2 separate regions of the Homo sapiens genome follow, and region 1 is linked to region 2. The links are contacts of gene promoters, found by promoter capture Hi-C in blood cells and fetal thymus (Javierre and others, 2016). All regions are on one chromosome and are shown on one strand. Each heading gives the region's core, a stretch centred on a gene start or on the middle of the fragment in contact. The rest is flanking DNA. Distances are from core to core; before and after follow the strand shown. Region 1 overlaps CCDC73 (coiled-coil domain containing 73). Region 2 holds the start of CCDC73 (coiled-coil domain containing 73).

Evidence for each region. Contacts are between HindIII fragments. The CHiCAGO score rates a contact against its expected background, and 5 or more counts as called.
Region 1: a fragment that was not itself captured here is called in contact with the fragment with the promoter of CCDC73 in region 2 in 1 of 17 cell types (M2 macrophages); the score reaches 5.1 in M2 macrophages.

What each region holds. Positions count from the first base shown.
Region 1 is chr11:32,711,229-32,716,619 of GRCh38, forward strand. All of the region lies in intron 3 of CCDC73 (coiled-coil domain containing 73), which reads right to left. Among named protein-coding and RNA genes, the nearest start is that of CCDC73, 81 kb to the right of the region's middle. The HindIII fragment of the contact is 572 bases long and covers 1,489-2,060 here.
Region 2 is chr11:32,792,404-32,797,666 of GRCh38, forward strand. CCDC73 (coiled-coil domain containing 73) reads right to left here and starts at 2,259. Exons shown (of 18, transcript NM_001008391.4): 1 at 2,210-2,259. RefSeq lists silencers at 575-624, 635-754. The HindIII fragment of the contact is 7,830 bases long and covers 1-2,365 here.

The DNA.
Region 1 (5,391 bases), core at 525-3,024, 82 kb before region 2:
TGGAGATTCCTTAAAAAACTAAAAGTAGATCTACCATTTGATCCAGCAACCCCACTACTAGGTTTCAACCCAGAGGAAAAGAAGTCATTATACCAAAAAAATACTTGTACATCCATGTTTATAGCAGCACAATTTGCAACTGCAAAAATATGGAACCAGTCCAAATGCCCATCAATCAACAAGTAGATAAAGAAAATATGGTATACACATACCACAGAATACTACTTAGCCATAAAAAGGAATGCAATAATGGCATTCACAGCAACCTGGATGAAATTGGAGACTTTATGCCAAATATCATATGTTCTCACTCACAAGAGGGAGCTAAGCTATGAGCACACAAAGGCCTAAGAATAATACATTGGACTTTGGGGAATCAGGCAAAAGGCTGGGAGAGGGGTGAGGGATAAAAGAATACACACTGGGTACAGTGTAGACTGTTCGGGTGATGGGTGCACCAAAATCTTGGAAATGACCACTAAAGAACTTATTCATGTAACTAAACACTACCTGCTCCCTAAAAACCTATTGAAAAAAACAAAAACAAAAACTTTAACAGCGCCCCTTTCTGGGTCTTCCGATTGTCATAAAGCTTTCTACCTATTTGTACCTCAGCAGTGTAGACAAGCCCTTAATGCTCTAACAGAACACCATGGGAGTCATCAGGGTCTAATTGTTTATTACAGTCTTCCCTTAGACCTAGTGGCAAAAGCCAGCTCCTTATCAAGGGCAGTATTAGCAGCTGTCAAACTAGTAGAGGCTTCTACTAATGTGGTTTAAGGATTTATTTAGACTTCATGATACCTCATGCTGCGCAATCCTTGTTATTTACTAAAAACACATTTCTCAGCAAGCAGGTTCACCTCCTATGAACTTTTATTACTTTCTCCCCCACACATTTCCACCCAGTGCTATAATACCTGAAAGTCTACTAACAGGAAGACAAATACCACATGATCTCACTTATATATGGGACCTAAAAAAGTCAAACTTATACAAGTTGAGAGTAGAATAGTGGTTACAAGAAGCTAGGGAGGTGGAGGCCTGGGGTGGAGGGAAGGGAGATGTTGATCAAGGGTACAAAGTTCCAGTTAGATGGAAAGAATAAGTTTGAGATCTACTGCACAGCATGTAGTAAGCATAGTTAATAATAATGTATATTTCAAAATTGGTAAAAGTAGATTTTAAATATTCTCACTATAAAAAAATAAGCATTGAAGTGATGGATATGTTAATTAGTTTGATATAACCATTCCACAACATATACATACACAGGTGTATCAAAACATCACATTGTAGCCCATATATACAATATTTATTTTTCAATTAAAATAAAGATCTAAATAAAAAATAAGAGGCATGAAAACTGAAAAAGAAAAACTCATTGCTTATTTCTCTTTAATTTTTAATTTGCACAAACTATACAATAATACTATTTGACAATTGCCCCCTAAAATTGCCAATAAGTCTGTCATATAATCTTACCTAAGCTTACATATATGTACATGTATATACTAATTTACTTTTTATGTTATTCATTATAAATATGTATATATACACTTCATTTTATATATAGCATATATAAATGCTTGAATAGAAACAGGTTAAAATGCTTTTATATCTTAATGAAAAAATATACTAATGTAGTAAAGAGATGGGGATTGAACAGAGCACCTACCAAACTTTCTTTCAAGAAATATTTTGATAATCAATAACTTCCTATATAAAGTATATCTCTTTGATCTCTATTTCTAATAAGTGTTACTCATAGACAAGTTTAACAAAAAGCCTGGTATTGTTTTTCCATTACCCAAAGAAAGGAAAATCCATGACGACTCAGTCTCTGTCTAAGCAATAACTGTGCTTCAGACAGATTTATTAGAAACTCCCCCCGGATTAAATTTACATGTAATCTTGTTTGTTGATAGGTCATTTTTTGAAAGTGAAATGGAAAAAATATCAGGCAGGATATATTGCAACAGTCTCAACTGACCCCTAAATCATGACTCCTTACCAGAGGTTAAACCAGCCCAGATGACAGAACTTATTCTATTCAGCAAAGCTTGCCAGTTGCCAAGACATTAGAGAGTTAACATTAATAGCAGCTATGCCTTTGGTGTTGTCCATGATTTTGGAATACTGTAAAAATAATTATGGTTTCCGATCTCAGTAGGAATCCCAATTTCAAGTAGTCAACCATTTTAAGTGTTCTAATGCTTCCTTAGGGGATGGTTATCATAAAGCCACACTGAAAGGGATAACGTTAAGGCTAGAGGAAATACCCTAGCTAATCTTTATGACATACAGTCCCGGCCCCCATGATATCCAAAAAGCCAAATCTTTGAAGAAGTTTAAAAAGCCTATTTTGGAATGCCTACAACTGGCTCCAGAGTCTGAAGAAAAAATGTGATAATAAATTACAAAAAGAAAATCTCTTTCAGGACACTTTCAGGACAGACACTTGGTGGCACCAGAGGACCTCAATGGAACTTTGTAAAAATTTTATAGGAAATTACCCCTCAGAGCAAGGACAAACTGAACATTATATTCAATCAGCATTGGTGGTGAAATTTTACTAAAATTGCTGAGGATGTCTCTGGTGTACAGCTGTCATTAGCACTGTCTTGGTAAAACTGTTATCCTTGTAAATCCAAGCCTTAGGGTCCCTATAAACACTTTCAAATGGATTTCCTAAAATTAACCCCTAGAACAGGTTCTGAGTATGTTCATCATTGCTTCCATCTTTTCAGGATGAACTAAAACTTCTTGCCAGAGAGCTACAGTTCTGTGAGTAGAAAAACAAATTACTTGATTTTGTGTTTCCAACCTGAGGATCTATCTCCAGGGACAGGGTTACTCATTTTACTGGGACTGTCATTACAGAACTTTGCAAAACCTTGTCATTTATTTAGAAATTCATTGCCCCCATCATCCTCAAACTTGAAGAAAAGTAGAGAGGACTAATGGCACACTGTATCTGACACTCTTAAACTTCCATGACCAAGAAGGTTACCTCTAACTCATAACACCATGAAGTCCATACTCCCCTATATTCATTGGCTTTTACCATATAAACTTGTTAAGAGTTTGCCCTATGAAGTTGGCTACTTCTCCCCTGATTTTGGACATTTCTTTACTTCAGACAAATGTGGCAAAACACTCCAAGGGACTAATGTAATCTGTTTCAGAGTCTTATCACAAACAGATAACAGTTGCTTTTCTTCTATATGACCAAAAGCTCAGAGGTAATGTCTTCTAGAAATGACCTCAGAAAGAAAAAACAAATATCCTGAAACCATGTTGGAAATAATCCTACCAAGAACTGCCAGCACAGTAGCTAACCCCTGGGGAATAGATCCTTGAATTCATGTCTCCCAGATGAACAGACACTAGGTTTCACTAATACATGGAATGCCATTCCATCAAGAAATTTAAATCTAAGGAGTCTTGAGAAAGCTTCAGAAGCAGACATATTCAGAAAGAAACAGCTACCATTCAAGAGGTATGGATCAAGACAGCCTCTACCCAAGACCTACAGAGTCTGTTTTTATATGGCCTGTGAGCCAGGAATGGTTTTTATATTTTTAATGGGTTAAAAAGAAAAATAAAAAAATAACATTTCAAATCACCTGAATATTGTATAAAATATAAATCTTAGTGTCCATAACATTTTATAGGAACATAGACACACTGATTCATGTAAGTACTGTCCATGGCTGCTTTTACACTATAACAAAGTTGAATGGTTGTGACAGAGACCATACTGTCCACAAAGTCTGAAATATTTACTACGTGGCTCTTTACAAAAAAAGCTTGCTAACACCCTACCTAGATAATCAGAGCTAAAGATTGCAATGCTTTTATTTGCAGGCTTTTGTTCTTTATTTTCTGAGGTACTTTCTTTCCCCTTTCTTAATCCAGCCCCTTAAGTGAGTAAAAACATATTATTTATTAACCATGATGGTTTCAAAGGTCCTTATCCTTAATATTGCTCCCTACATTCTTGGCCACTCTATGGTGTGAGTCCAATTACTAATGGAAATTTTTGATTTGGGGATGGCCTCTGTTCTCTTGGTTTAATATAGGTATTCCTAGCTGCTGGCTTTAAAGTGATCTACAAGTTCTGATAACAAACTTTTCTTTAGTGTTTTTCCACGTTGGTGTGTTCAGAAGTGTAACTTCTGGAATCTTAAGTACTGTTGCATAGCCACTGTCCTATAAAGTGATCCAACAAATTATGATCCAACAAAAGGAAAAACTGATACACACGCACACACACACACACACACACACCACCAGAAACCACCTACATGCCATCATGACTCTTCATCAAGCAGCATAAATCTTGATTGATCACATCCTAAATAATAATAGTTTATTTTATTTTCCAGCTCAGGTTGAAGAAGCAAAAGGGGACTGAGAACTAAAACCACCTGCATCAATATAACAGAGATATTCAGAGTAAGAACTGAGAATACCTGTGTCAACACAACTTAGTTTTTTGTTCCAGGAAACCTTTGCCCAGTAAATATAAGACTATAAAAACCAATAAATTATATCACTGTTTGTTTCAGGCAACTGCTGCAAAACAACTTATCTGAGACAATAGTTTATTTGGGTAAACATCTGGTTTATCAAACAACTATTTATTCTCAAGAGTAGCTTCAAGAGCTTCAATGTTGCCACATTCACAATCCTAAAATACTGCATTACAAAATTTGCCCAATCCCCATCAATATCCTCCCTTAAAAGATCTGCCTAAATCTGCTTGCACCTAGACCCTATAACCCTCTACATAGTCCAATACTGATTTGCACCTTTTGAAATACTAAGACTCTGTAAAAGTAGTGTTTTCACTTACTGCAATGAGTTTCAATAAACATACCTGCTTTATTAACAAGTTGTTTGGTGATATTTGAGGGAATGCAACCAGGCAGTTCTAATTTACACTGCTAACAACATATGAAAGTTCTTGTTTTTCTAAAAGTTGGTAAAGGTAGGAATCTGGCTTTTTCTTCAGATGGAATCCAGCTCTAATACCATTTCTTGAATAATCCATTATTCCCCACTGATTTAAAGGCCACCGTTAACATTCACTAAATTATCTTATGTATTTGGATCTATTTCTAGATTCTGTTGTGTTCTACTAAATAACTATGTATACTGCACCAAGCTATTTTAATTATGACAGCTTTATATTATGTTTAAGAATCAAGTATGACTATTTCATTCCCTTCTTTTTAAATTTCCCAGCCACTCTTGTATGTTTATTTCCACATAAACCTTAGAATAAGCTTAAGTACCAAAAATATGTTCTTGACATTTTAAATTGGATTTATTTATTTATTTTTAGAGACAGAGCCTCGCTCTGCACCCAGGCTGGAGTGCAAT
Region 2 (5,263 bases), core at 1,009-3,508:
GTAATCAGAGAAGTTTAAGAATGCTGTGAGTTCAAAAAAAGTTAGGTTAAACAAGTTCCTTCACTGCAGGACATTTTAGAGTCCTTAAATGAATTCCAAGAGTATTTTTGGCCACAGAAACCTTTTTTTATTGAAGCATCTCACAGGACTAGTGCTCCCTGGAACACAATTTAGGAAATACTGTCTTTTGGAAACGGTGTACCTCCAACTGTCTTGAGGTACACTATATAAATAACAGTGCCCAATTTTCACCTCCTTCAGAAAACTCAGTCAGATTTCTCATCTTAACTATAGCATCCTTCACAATTTGATCAAACTTGCAATAACTTTAATTTGGTTAGCATGAAGTAGTGGTTAAGCATCTGGGTTTCAATTCTAGCTCCACCACTTGTCGGCTGTGTAATCAGCCTTGCATTGTTATTTAATCTCTTTCCCATGGTTTTCCCATGAAGTGTAAGGAGAATACTGGGAATACCTACGGTACAGGGTTTGGGGTTTGTTTTTTTAGGATTAAATGAGATAACTTCCAGCCCCTGGCGTGTAATAAGCATTCCACATATGATATCTATTACTATTAGAATAACACTATCACCGCACCTGTACAGTTATTACGGGATACACGGCCAGAGCGAAAGAAACTAAAAACCCTATGCTGCCGCCTGGTGGACACTCGGAATTTAAAAATCTGTCATTCGCTTCCTTCCTGACACTACGATATGAAGCCGTATGGAAATTAAAACGTTTTCTCAAGCTGCATTAACACACTTTATAAATCATCAAAGTGGGGAATCTAATTTTCCAAAACTTAACAACTACCCCCAAGGCAACCCTGAAACCAGGGAGAGTTGTAAAGACTCAAATTGGCCGAAGAAATGGCTGAGAGAAGACACCAGTGAAGGACTACAGAGGAAACTCCATCCACAGCGTATTTGCTGATTCTCAGGTTGGGATATTTCAGTATAGATTTTTTCTTCAAGGTATAAAACAAAGAGAGCCATAGGAATTTATCACAACTAAAGCAAAATAACCAATAATCATCAATTCGAGGATCTCAATATAAGCAGAAGACTCCGTGGAATCTTCACATTTTCTTTCTAAAAGAAGTGCACTGATCATAAAGGTTCCCATAAATGACTTAAGGGTTGTCACTTATTTTCAGCAGCAAAGTGAAGTGGAAGATTGCAGCAATGACATGAATAATTTATTTTATTTTATTTTATTTTTTTAGACAGAGTCTCGCTCTGTTGCCCAGGCTGGAGTGCAGTGGAGTGATCTAGGCTCACTGCAACCTCCGCCTCCCGGGTTCAAGCAATTCTCCTGCCTCAGCCTCCTGAGTAGCTGGGACTACAGGTGCCCGCCACCACGCCCGGCTAATTTTTGTATTTTTAGTAGAGACGGGGTTTCACCATGTTGACCAGGCTGGTCTCAAACTCCTGACCTCAGGTGATCCGCCCGCCTCGGCCTCCCAAAGTGCTGGGACTACAGATGTGAGCCACCGCCCCGACCAAATAATTTATATCTAGAATTCAGCATTATCAGGATTAGCAGGGCAGTCATTTCATTCCCAGTGAGATTCCATTTAAATTTGCTCGTGCAAGGCAGTTTGGGAGAAACAAAATCACCAGCAGAATGAAGAAAAAATAGAGAAATGTCCCTGGGAATTTACACACTTCTGCAACTGCGCTAGAACTTTCGCACTATACTTAAAACATTCTGCAAAAAGTAACGTTCACCAAAGAAAAAGTCGAGATTCACCAATAACAGTTCCAAATGTTGCTAACTCTGAGCGGTCAGAGTTGTTTGAAAATTTTCAGAAGAACAATCGACATGATTGCATTGCATTCATAAGGCAAATATGAGGTTTAAAACAAAAACCACCACCACGCAAGGCACATGTACAGAAGGCGCTTCTCCACGATGAACAGACGAGACCCTCATGACTCACCCGCAGTCTCAATCCTGCCCAAGCAGAGATCCAGATGGATGCCTCAGTGTGGCTGCTTCTCCTGGGTCGGGAGCGTGGAAGATTCTAGACACAGCCCAGCAGTCAGGAGGCTCCAGGCCAAAGCAGCCCCTTGGCAACCAGAGCAAGGAAGGGTAGGTTACGCAGCTGGAGGTGCAGGGCAAACCCGTAAGTGGACCCTGCATGAAAAGATTAGGGCTGCTTCCTAAACAGCCCAACTACACGCTTGTGACTGCTCCGACTTACCTCAGCGAAGCGCGCCTCTAGCTCCTGTTGGCCCTTCCGGTTCACCTTTTCCCGCCCTAGGGCACTTCCGGCTTGAAGGTCATTAGCCTAAGATACGTGGGTAATCTTGAGCATCTGGGGCAAAATATGATTGATTTTATTTTCTTTTTAAATACAAGCTTCGGAAAAGATACCTGGATATTTGATGTTTTTCCTTAAGTACAACATGTATTGGCTTATATATTCTTTTTTGTTTTTGTTTGTTTTCGGTTTGTTTTTGGTTTTTTTTTTGAGACGGAGTCTCGCTCTGTCGCCCAGGCTGGAGTGGAGTGGCGCGATCTCGGCTCACTGCAAGCTCCACCTCCCAGGTTTATGCCATTCTCCTGCCTCAGCCTCCCGATATATTCGTTTTTTAAAAAAAAAGTCTTTGGAAAGATGAAAGAAAAATGAGTAAGTATTACCTGTGGGGAGCAATGGGAAGTGTGTGGATGGGAACGGGAGAGAGAGGGAGACTTCACTGAATAGCTTTTTATACTTTTTGATGTTTGCTTCATGTGAATGTGTTACTAATTCAAAAAATAAATGTTAGCCGGGTGTGAGGGTTCACTGGCTCATGCCTGTAACCCCAACAATTTGGGAGGCTGAGGTGGGAGGATTGCTTCAGGTCAGGAGTTCGATACCAGCCTAGGCAACATGGTGAGACCCCCGTCTCTACCCAAAAATACAAAAATCAGCCGGGCATGGTGGCGTGCGGCTGTAATCCCAGCTACTTGGGAGGCTGAGGCAAGAGGATAGATTGAGCCTGGGAGGTCAAGGCTGCAGTGACCCAAGACTGCACCACTGCACTCCAGCCTAGGCAATGGAGCAAAACCCTGTCAAAAAAAAAAAGAAAAGAAAAGTTGCTTAATTTTTAAAGTGAAATAGAAAAAAAACTGCAGTTCTAATTATACTGATAATCACACCTATTTTAAGCACCTAACTAATGCTATGTTTCAGTATGTTATGTTGAATAGTCATTCAATAAGAATGTAATATGTTTCAGGCCTACATTGTTTTTGCATGCTACCAAAATGTAAAAGAAGTGGTTCCTGCCCTCAAATTTTTTTTTTTTTTTTGAGAAAAAGTCTCATTCTTGTCCCCCAGGCTGGAGTGCAATGGCACGATCTCAGCTCACTGCAACCTCCGCCTCCCGGGTTCAAGCGATTCTCCTGCCTCAGCCTCCCGAGTAGCTGGGATTACAGGCGCCTGCCACCACACCTGGCTAATTTTTGTATTTTTAGTAGAGACGGGGTTTCACCATGTTGGCCAGGCTGGTCTTGAACTCCTGACCTCAGGTGATCTGCCCGCCTTGGCCTCCCAAAGTACTGGGATTACAGGCATGAGCCACCGCAGCCGGCCCCCCGCCCTCAAATTTTTAACCACGTTTTCCAGTAAAAATCTGTCTGGAATTCTTTTTACTCCTTCCCTTTCTCCAAGCGTTTGCCCAGATGTCACCTTTTTAGGGAAAGCATTCCTAACTACCCCATAGTAACACCCATGCACATCCCCTACTTTGACCCCACCTTGTTTTATTCTCTGTAGCACAATCACCATCTCGTCTGGTATATTTATTAACTGTATCCTAGGACACAAGCTTCGTGAAAACAGAGATGAATTTTGTTCACTTGCTTACCAGAATCTAGCACAATGCCTGGCATGTAAATGCCAAATAAATTCATATGAATGAATAAATGGACTATGACCTTTCAATTTGGTATTTACCAACCATAACAGCTATACTCTAATAATAACTAATATTTACGATAATTTACTATGTGCCAGACAATGAGCTAAGTGTTTTTACATACATCATCTCATCTTAGTCTCCACAACAATCCTATTACTATGCACTTTTTGCCTATTAGAAAACTAAGGTGTAGAGAGGCTAATGAGTTGAATGTAATCACCTCTGAATGCCCTCCTAACCCCATGCAATTTCCCCAATGATCAGTGCTATGGTTTGAATGTTTTTGTCCTGTCCACGATTCATGTTGAAACTTAATCTCCAAAGCAAGTGTGTTATGAGGTGTGGCCTTTAGGAGACGATTGAGTCATGAGGGGAGAATAGGATGTGATGCCCTTATAAAGGGGTTTTTCGGCCAGCTGTGGTGGCTCATGCCTGTAATCCCAATACTTTGGGAGGCCAAGGTGAGTGGACCACTTGAGGTTGGGAATTTGAGACCAGCCTGGCCAACATAGAGAAACCCCGTCTCTACAAAAAATACAAAAATGAGCCGGGCATGGTGGCAGGTGCCTGTGTAATCCCAGCTGCTCCGGACGCTGAGGCGTAAGAATCGCTTGAACCCAGGAGGCAGAGGTTGCAGTGAGCCGAGATCACACCACTCCACTCCAGCCTGGGTGACAGACTGAGACTGCCTCAAAAAAAAAAAAAAAAAAAAAAAAAGTAACAACTTAAAAAGTTAAAGGACTTAACCATTATTTTCACTTTGGGGATATCACTTTCAAGTCATGATACATGTGAACATTTAAAGAAACCTAACTGTTTCTATCAGCAGTTAGAAACTGCATCTATGAGCCAGGAATGGTGGCACACATCTATAGTCCCAGTTGCTTTGGAGGCTGAGGCAGAAGGATCACTTGAGCCCAGGAGTTTGAGACTGCAGTGAGCTATGATTGCACTACTGCACTCCAGCCAGGGTGACAGAGAGAGACCTTGTCTCAAAAAACAAAAAACAAGTTTAGAACTCTGTACATCTTCCTCCACTTGCCTGGCATATCCTGACTCTGCCACAACCAGCAGTTCACTTTGCCTTTCTTTGTACATGCTGCTTCCTCTACCTGGATGCTCTTTACTGTCTCTAGGCCTATCTAAAAACACTTTCTCATCCTTTAAATTCCAGTTCACAGGTCCCCTCTTTGAAATTTCATCAACTCTCCACTCCCATCTAAGTAGAACTAATCATTCCCTGCTTGGTGCAATCACTCGACTCTACATATCTTTATTGTAGTATTTATCATAGGCCCTTGCAATTGTCTGTATACACTTTCTCTCTCCTAATAGACTGTGAACTTTTT